Linked DNA regions of Homo sapiens: region 2 is linked to region 1. Evidence: promoter capture Hi-C in human tissues and cell types (Jung and others, 2019). All regions are on one chromosome and are shown on one strand. The core of a region is centred on a gene start or on the middle of the fragment in contact, and the rest is flanking DNA. Distances in the headings are between cores, read along the strand shown. Region 1 holds the start of ACVR1C (activin A receptor type 1C). Region 2 overlaps PKP4 (plakophilin 4).

Region 1 (4,429 bases), core at 636-3,135:
TTGTATTTTTAGTAGAGACGGTGTTTCACCATATTAGCCAGGATGGTCTCGATCTCCTGACCTCGTGATCCGCCCGTCTCGGCCTCCCAAGGTGCTGGGATTACAGGCGTGAGCCACCGCGACCGGCCTTTTTTTTTTTTTTTTTTTTTTTTTTGCAAATGAGAGCTTTACAACTTGCAGAGGATGTTGCTTTAGAGACAAAATAAGTATGTGGGGAGTAAATCCCTGCCATTGTTGTAATGTGTATGGTTTAACAATGCTCTCTCATACACTACCCTTTTTGATCCTGGTCAAAGTTCTGGGAAATAGGGAGGAATTAAGTTCCATTTACTTTTGAGGAAGCAGACCCAGAAAGTTCATTACATTCTGCTATTTAGGCTCCCGGTATCATGATCTATTGGCAGATCACAATTTAAGGTGCAGTTATCAAATAATTAGCAAGCCAAACCAGACAAAATATAATGTGTCCTAGCAGTTTCTTGCCTTTTTAAAAAAGCATCTGTTTTGTGGGTGTCTGAAAGGGCTCAGATTTGTCCCACATCTCCAGTTTTTTGTTTGTTTGGATCCAGGATAAAACAAGAACAAAGTTTTTTTGTGCTTAGGAATATAAGATGGTGGCAGAAAAGATCCTCAGGATGCCACCCACATCTCAAAGTCCAACAACCATCTCATCTCCCATACTGTGATCCTTTGATAATAAAGTCAATTACATACAACATTTCACCATAGGTCTTTCATAGAACTTAGAACACCTAGCATATAATTTAGTCCTGAGCTAGGTGAAGAAGCAAGAAATGTTTTACTCTAAAGCAATTTTTATGACGCTATCACTTTTCAAGGAACCCCCAACAGTAGTAATAACACCAGTATTGTATTCTTGCTTTTTCGCGTTGTTCAGATTGAAATAATCCCATTCACTTTAATGTTCAGGCTCCATAGGTGAATTGAATTTAATTTCTATAAATTGGTAATGTTGCCGTTGTCCTTATATTTTCAGGCACAATCCAGGCCTTATATTTTCAGGCACCCGTTTGACAGTTAGCCTCTAGGGATTAAACAATACTCAAACAAGTTTTTCATATACTACTTTAAACAATTCTTCCCCTTCCCTTAATCCGTGTGTGTGTGTGTGTGTGTGTGTGTGTGTGTGTGTGTGTGTGTATGTTCCCTTAGTTCTTCAATTGCTGAAGTTGTAGCTGCCGAAATTATCTTCCATAGGTGAGGTCTTTTACCACCAGACGTGGGTCACACATTGTAGATGGCCACATCACCTGGCGCAGGTGGTCCAGCTTTGGTCGCCATTCATAGAGGGAAGGGTTCCCAAAAGGCACCCAAGAAGAGATGAAGTTTGTTAAACCAAAGCTTATAGGTCCAGAAGGCAGTCGGACAACTGGTCATTTCCAGGGATGAACAGAGAGGGCGCCCTTCCCCAGAGGCACAAATGGCCAGGACGCAGGGGTGGGACAAGCCAGTAGGAAGCCCGCGGGGCTCTCACAGCGCAACCTGGTTGGACTTAAGGACCCTGGACAACAAACGTCAGGAGAGCTAGGAGGCTGGCTCTTCTGCGGGAGGTTATAGAGCGGATCACCTGGGCGCAATCGCCGCGTAGTTGAAGTTTCCCTAAAGTCTCAGTGGGGCTTTTCCTCCCGTGAGAAGCCCCATTCCTGAGTATCTAGTCCCGGAGGCTCCGCACTGCTTCCCCACGCCCCCTCTTTCTTCGCCCCAGCTCTGGGCGATCTCACTGCCGGGCACAGGGCCGCCTTTGCCTGCCTGCCCTGCAGCAGCAGGCCCGGGCGGCTGCGAGAGGGCGCAGGGGGCGGAGGCGCGGCAGGGGCGGGCTCTGCCGCCCGCCCCACCACCCGCTCCCCGCCCGGCTGCGGGGCCAGTGGCAGGAGCGCCGCGCACCGCCAGCCGCAGGGGGCGTGGGATGGGGGCGGCCGGGGAGGGGGGCGCCCACACTGACTAGAGCCAACCGCGCACTTCAAAAGGGTGTCGGTGCCGCGCTCCCCTCCCGCGGCCCGGGAACTTCAAAGCGGGCCGTGCTGCCCCGGCTGCCTCGCTCTGCTCTGGGGCCTCGCAGCCCCGGCGCGGCCGCCTGGTGGCGATGACCCGGGCGCTCTGCTCAGCGCTCCGCCAGGCTCTCCTGCTGCTCGCAGCGGCCGCCGAGCTCTCGCCAGGTACGGTGCTGGTTTCTCTCCCGACGCCCGCGAGGGTGGGAGCTGGGAGGAGGTCTGCGGGTGAGCACGGGGGTGGGGGACAGGGGGTGCTCCGAGCAAACTGACCTTCGGGGCGGACAGGGAAGCGCCAGTCGGATTGAGGGGGCGCGGGATAGGGTGCAGCGTGGGCACCTGACGTCTGGCAGCCGTAGGGGTAGACAGGTGTGTTGGGGACGAAGCCGCCCGGAAGAGGGAAAAGGCAGCAGGGACGTGGGGGAATAAGTAGTAGGGGTGAGGTGGGTGACTAATTTGTGGGCAGTTTGCAGCGGAGAAAATAGGAGAGCGTTTGTGGGTGCGCGCATGGCTGGGAGCTGGGTTCACCCTGCAGGGACCTGGAGGGCTGCAGGTATGCGTCGGACGCGCTCTGTGCTAAGCCCCTGAGAGCTGCTCAAGGATGGTGGCATGGTGGTGGTGGGAGGTGGTGATTTAGTCTGAGTTTTAGGAGGCGGGGAATACCCCAAAAGCCGCAGATGCCAAGCTATGGAGGCGAGAGTGGGAGCTTAAATCTGTGTGGTTTGCAACGCACATTGCTTTCGAGGTACGATCTTTACTCAGAGTTCCTGGGGAAAAAAATTCTGGCAAGCGCCCCAGAGTTTATAACAGGTCTGTGCCTTGATAGGCTAAATAGAGCCCTCTACCCAATCTAGAAGCCAGACGTTTCTTTATAATGTTTACTAGAAAGTGGGGCAAATGCATCTTTGGTAAAATCATAATATGCTGTGACTAAAAGCCCTTTACCTCGAAAACTATTTTCATTACATTGTCCTGGATTATGCAGAGGAGGAGCAGATTCTTTGCTAACTCATTCTTTAAAAATTTCTATCAGACATTGAAGACATTTGCACATAAAAATCTGGTGTTTTCCCATAGAGCTGTGTTTTGTCCGAAGCTGATTTTGATGCATTTTGTTTTCCCAGATGACAATCTGTTTGACATTAATAGCTATATTCATGGTGGGTCGTTTTCCTCTTAGTGACATGTGCAAGAGAATGATTTGAATGATATGATTGCTGTCATGTACAGATTTCAGTGTTTCAGATGGCCTGAGAGAATCACTAAATACAATATTCAAATATAAATTTGATTATTGAAAAGGATTAATTGACAAAATCTGAGGATTAAAACATTCCAGTTATCTTTTAGGAAAACAGCCCAAGACTGTCGGAAAGATGATGGGATAAAGTGAAATATTTGCATTTAGAGTTAATAAATTTATAAGTGGGAGAAAACCAACTATGGGAAAGTCTTTAAAAAATGGGTGAAAACTCTGCTAACTTGGGATACTGAAAGTGCTCTTGACAATTTAATAGAGTTTACAAAAAAAAGTCTTCAAGGTATCACAGTTTTGATGGGGTGAAACTGCCTCTGGAGGCTGTCTGTACAACTCTTTTTATTTGGAGGAGCTGATAACTTGGCTGCACACATTTCTACAAAACAGATTCAATTTTTTTAAAATGTAGCTTCAAGGGTATATTTTGTTGTATACCCAGAATCTTTAGAAAATTTCAGAGACCTTGAGCATAGCAACATGCCTCATGTTCTTGAAAAGGCATGGAAACTTTTGACATTGAAATATGCAAAAAATAAAAAAAAGATAATCCATTCAAAGTCGCTCACTTAAAATTTGAAGTCTAAGAAAAATGCATGATATGGAATAATATAGTAGAGATGTATTTATTGAAGCTGAACTTTTATGAAAAACTTTTCTATGTCAAGTGCAATCATTTTCAAATCTCCTTAAGAAGTTTTTACCCCTCTGTGTCCCACGTTAACAATGTATATTGCTACTTATAGTATTTATTCTTAACTTTATATAAAACTCTGGCTATTTAGTAGAAAGATTCAAGGTAGTTTTGTTTTGCTTTTCACTTTTTCAATTGGTTTTATGACATGGTTAGCCAACTGTATTTTTACCTGGTCACTTTTACAAATTATACTGTTAATCATATTGGCCATTTATGACATGTACTTGCTGTTGTTGGAATGTTATATGAGAAGTTGTTCTTGATGTAATGACATAGTCAGTGAAACTGTGTGACAGAAGGCACCACCTTTCATCTGGATCTGCAGAGCAGGCCTACGACTTTAAATATCTGAACACATGATAAACCAGTAAACCTTTTTTACTTTGGCTGCTCATTCCCCACATTGTTGTCACCTTAGGGGTGTCCATTGCTCCTTTTTGAGAATCTCAGAAGATAACAGCTGGTAGA
Region 2 (4,429 bases), core at 1,060-3,559, 840 kb before region 1:
CCTGGTTGTGACATTGTAATATAGTTTTCAAGATGTTACCACTGGGGAAAACAATATAAAGGGTACACAGGATCTTTCCTTCTGTAAATTTTATTACAGTGATTATGTGAGGTTGGGAAAGGGACAACCAAAATGTATAAGAATATTTCTATCTACTATATTAAGACCAAACAAAGGTTTACTTACTATACCAACTAGGTCAAAACAAGCTATGAAATTTTGTTTCATTACTCTTAACATTTATGTAATTTTATAGTACCAATAACCCTTAGCATTTTTGTAACATTTCCCCTTTGAAAAACTTCATGTGCTTTAAATTATATCTACTTCTGTCTTAACTCTTCAACTGAGTATACAAAGATATTACTGATTCACAAAAGGTACAGATACAGAAAGTTTGCTCAATATCACACTTTCAAAGCTTAGCTTAGTCTTGGTGCTTGATTGGTGCCTATTAGTAGTATGATAAAGAGCATTATGAAAACTCATCTCACTATGGTTATAATCCAGGCAATTAAGTTTAAAATGAATATGAACCAATCTGTTTAAAATCTTCTAATTAATTTCTTTTTGAAATGGAGTTTCGCTCTGTCACCCAGGCTGGAGTGCAGTGGTGCAATCTCTGCCCACTGCAACCTCTGCCTCACGGGTTCACGTGATTCTCTCACCTCAGCCTCCCAAGTAGCTGGGACTACAGGCGCCCGCCACCACGCCTGGCTAATTTTTTTTTTTTTGTATTTTTAGTAGAGATGGGGTTTCACCATGTTGTCCAGGCTGGTCTTGAACTCCTAATCTCAAGTGATCCACCTGCCTCAGCCTCCCAAAGTGCTGGGATTACAGGTGTGAGCCACTGCACCCAGCCGTTAATTTCTTTACTAAGGAATTTGGTATAATGAATTATTTATCTAGCAAGTTGTATTAGAAAAGCATTTTTTTAAAGTCTAAATAGTTTTTTCCTTTGAAACATGCAGGATAAATGGTATCAGGGTCTCAGACCAGTTTACAAAAGGACAGAGGATAGGTACTAGGCACAAACAGACACGATTATCCAAGAGTAGCAGGTGAAGGTGTTCAAAACTAGAATTCAAACTCATTCATTCACTTAAGGTATGTAGAACCACTGGAGGTCAAGATTTAAGTCCTGTAGAAAGATAAAGTCCCTGCTGTTGAGTAGCTTAGAGCAGGACTATTTTCCCATGGAACTGATATACTATAGTTACACTACAGGACGGGAGATTTATGGATTAATGTTGCTTCTGTGAAAAATTATATTCACAGTTCTAAATAATATTTTGGAAGACTGACACTTGCCGATATACTATCCGAAGATTTCAGACTGACACTTATTTTTCATCTGTTGACAGTCTGAATTAGACCTTTAACATCTGAGTTGTTTATCACAGGTCTCAGACTAATAGTATTAATAGTTCTTGTGAAGTCCAGTTGGATTTTGTGATTCCTTAGTCAGTGCCTTTTTTAAACAGACTTACTGCTTATGTAGTTGTCGACAAAATGACAGTAAGTGAAAAATTCCCATCAGTGCATCATTCTGAGATTCAAAGTAAGATTCAATGAGACCATTTATTCTAGCATACATCACGAGAGATTTTGAAACATTCTGTTTATTCATAACAATGGGAGGGAATATTTTCAACAGCAAGTTTGGGCTTATAAAGGCACACAAATTACATAGAGAATAAAAGAAAAGCACAAAACACAATAAACGAAAATACTGCTGCATGAAAAATAAAAATAAGAATGTAATAAAATGGCAGGTCTTACAGCATAAATTATGGTTTCTCATAAATCATGTATTGTCATTATGATTAATTATTTCACATAGGCTATATGGTAAAGTGTTTCAAGAGATACAGCCAAAATAATCAAGTTCATGATTAAAACTTATTTTGAAATCACTATTTATCTTTGGTGCAGACTTTTCCCAAAGAAAGCTAATGAGAGTGGTTAGTGCATATCTCTAGAATCGGGTAATTTATCATGTAATACACAATTAAGCAAGTAGAAGTATGAGCTACAACCTAGTTATTTTATAGCTCATCCTTAATACTTATGAAACAATGTTACATGCTTATTTATATACCAACATTTCTAGGACAATCTTCTCTACCTCATGTGTCTTATCTTTCCCAACCAGACTGAAAAATGTATCATGGATTCCTTAAAGACCGAGACTCCCATTACTGAATCTAACACAGACAGTAAGTATCCCTGGAGGAAGTCATCTTTTTGGCCATAAGGCCTATCAGTCTGATATGGAGTAGGGGACTAAAAAATGTTGGTTAAAATGAACTAAAATGAATCATTTCAAATAAGTAGTATCGTTTTAAATAAGTATGCAAAATGAAACACAATACTGCACACACAGCAGGACTCCAACAAATATCTAAAGTACTAATTGTCTACAGTCCCCTCACTTGCACCCCTAGTGGTATACAGGAATAAAGTTACCTTTAATTCATCAAACAGTCCCTGTTTCCCACTCAACTCAGGGTACAGGTGTCAGAACACATGATCCATTTCACTGCAAAGTGGTAAATAATGGTTTCTATTTTACATGAGTGTTTACAATTCTCATGAAGGTATGGGAACAACAGCCAGTTCTTCAAGGGTTTATTTTGATCGTGACATTGACAATTCATTTAATACTGCATACAATAGTAGTATAATTAATGCTTCCCTTTGCAAATAATGTGCTTATTGCATTAGCAAAGGGGAAGAGCTAACCTCAATATTTTTAAACAATTGTTTTATAGATAAATACATACTAGAGTTCTATACGGATTTTTTTTCTCCACAAAGGAAGAGAACAGGGTCTAGGAGAAACTTTCATCACTGAATTTTTAAATTACTTTTTATAGAAGAGCACAAATCCAAGTAAAAAATTCTCCTCATGAAATCTGCCACAATTTCTGAACACTGGTAGATTGTCTATATGTAAAAATTAGACTTGAATGAAAAGTCCCTCTATTCTATGAGATATGGATTGACGAGTTCCCTATGAACCTAAAGTATTCATACAAAATGTTTTCAGAGGAGCAACTCTGTCAGTTGTTTAACTTCTCTGAGGACAAATCAAACCATCTGAGCAAGTAAGAAGTGGATCTTTCTCACTGTAACAAGACTAGTCCCTTCTAACCACCATGCTAAATCCCCTTTCTTGTTTCTATCCAACTTCTGAAAAATGTAGTCTCAATCAGAGGTGAAGCCTCCAATGTGCACAGGGGACTGGTTGTAGACAAGTAAGTCCCAGAAGTCAGGGCTGTGACAAACTGCAGATGTGCAGCTCCATAAAGGCTCACTGCTCAGCTCCTGCCCCGAGGGGCCCCAGGGATCCTCACTCCTGGAGCACTTCACCACTACCGCACAAGACACGGAGCCACTGACTCAGCCACAGAGGGGTCACAGGTTTGTCTGGCTGCGACACATATTTTCAGGAGCTGAGAATTTCAAGTATACAACTTCAATTTTCCCTCCTTATCCCAGAGGGTAAATTGTCATAAATCCTTGGGAAGACAGCATATTCTTGCTGAGGAAAAAATGTAATGGCTTGATGTTCTAAGAGTTGCGAAATGTAAGTACTAGAGGGACTCTAGAGAGCATCTAGACCAACTCCCTCATTTTATAGACAAGAAAACTAAAGCCCACGAGAGTTACATGATGTGCTCATGGGACACACACCTGCATAGTGGCAAAGCCAGGACTAGAACTAGAGCCTCTTGATATCTATTTAACCACTGTCTGTTGATTTATATCATGTATATTCCAAACCCCCTTCCTCTTTTCTAGCCTTTCTTGATTTGGGAGTCTCCTGCTGATTTCAAATATCCTTTTTTTTTTTTTTTTCAACTGTGATCACTTTCAGACAGAAAAGCCAGCTTAAAGAGTTAATTTACAAGCTGCATTTGGGCAAATGGTGTTAAATGATGAACACTTTCTAACGCTTTATTCATGTACTGACTAGCAAAGACATTTTATAAAATGACTACTACCTGGGATTACAAACGCAATAATTGTATACATTCTCCTATACTTGTTGGCTAGCGGTGGTTAATGCCTCTCTAAGTATTGCCTACCGCAAGAAGCTACAACTTCCCTACTTAAAAAGGCCCTTAATTACTGTGCTGGATTCTCTTTTCTACAATGTCCTGCAAACTATCAAGCTCACAATGGTTTCTGTTCAGCAGTTTATTTCTTCTCTGAAATATCCTGTTGAAATCCATAATCATTTTGACAAAACCCACACAGAAAGCAAGCCAATAATTTCCCTGGCATTTGGTAAATGCTGCAGAAACCATCATAAAAGCACCACAATGTAAAAATAATTATTTCAATGTATTAAGCGCTGGCTCTGAACCAGCTCCTGTTGTAAGCACTTTACATGTATTAATTCATTTAATCTCCCCAACAA

Evidence for each region. The method cuts DNA at HindIII sites, captures the fragments that hold promoters and counts their contacts. A contact is called where the count stands out against the background at its distance.
Region 2: a contact is called between a fragment that was not itself captured here and the fragment with the promoter of ACVR1C in region 1, in 1 of the 25 tissues and cell types used here (hippocampus).

What each region holds. Positions count from the first base shown.
Region 1 is chr2:157,626,320-157,630,748 of GRCh38, reverse strand. It overlaps ACVR1C (activin A receptor type 1C), which reads left to right and starts at 1,885. Exons shown (of 9, transcript NM_145259.3): 1 at 1,885-2,177. The coding sequence starts at 2,105. RefSeq lists a silencer at 1,941-2,170. The HindIII fragment of the contact is 14,203 bases long and covers 595-4,429 here.
Region 2 is chr2:158,462,848-158,467,276 of GRCh38, reverse strand. All of the region lies in intron 1 of PKP4 (plakophilin 4), which reads right to left. Among named protein-coding and RNA genes, the nearest start is that of PKP4, 8.1 kb to the right of the region's middle. The HindIII fragment of the contact is 6,532 bases long and covers 1-4,429 here.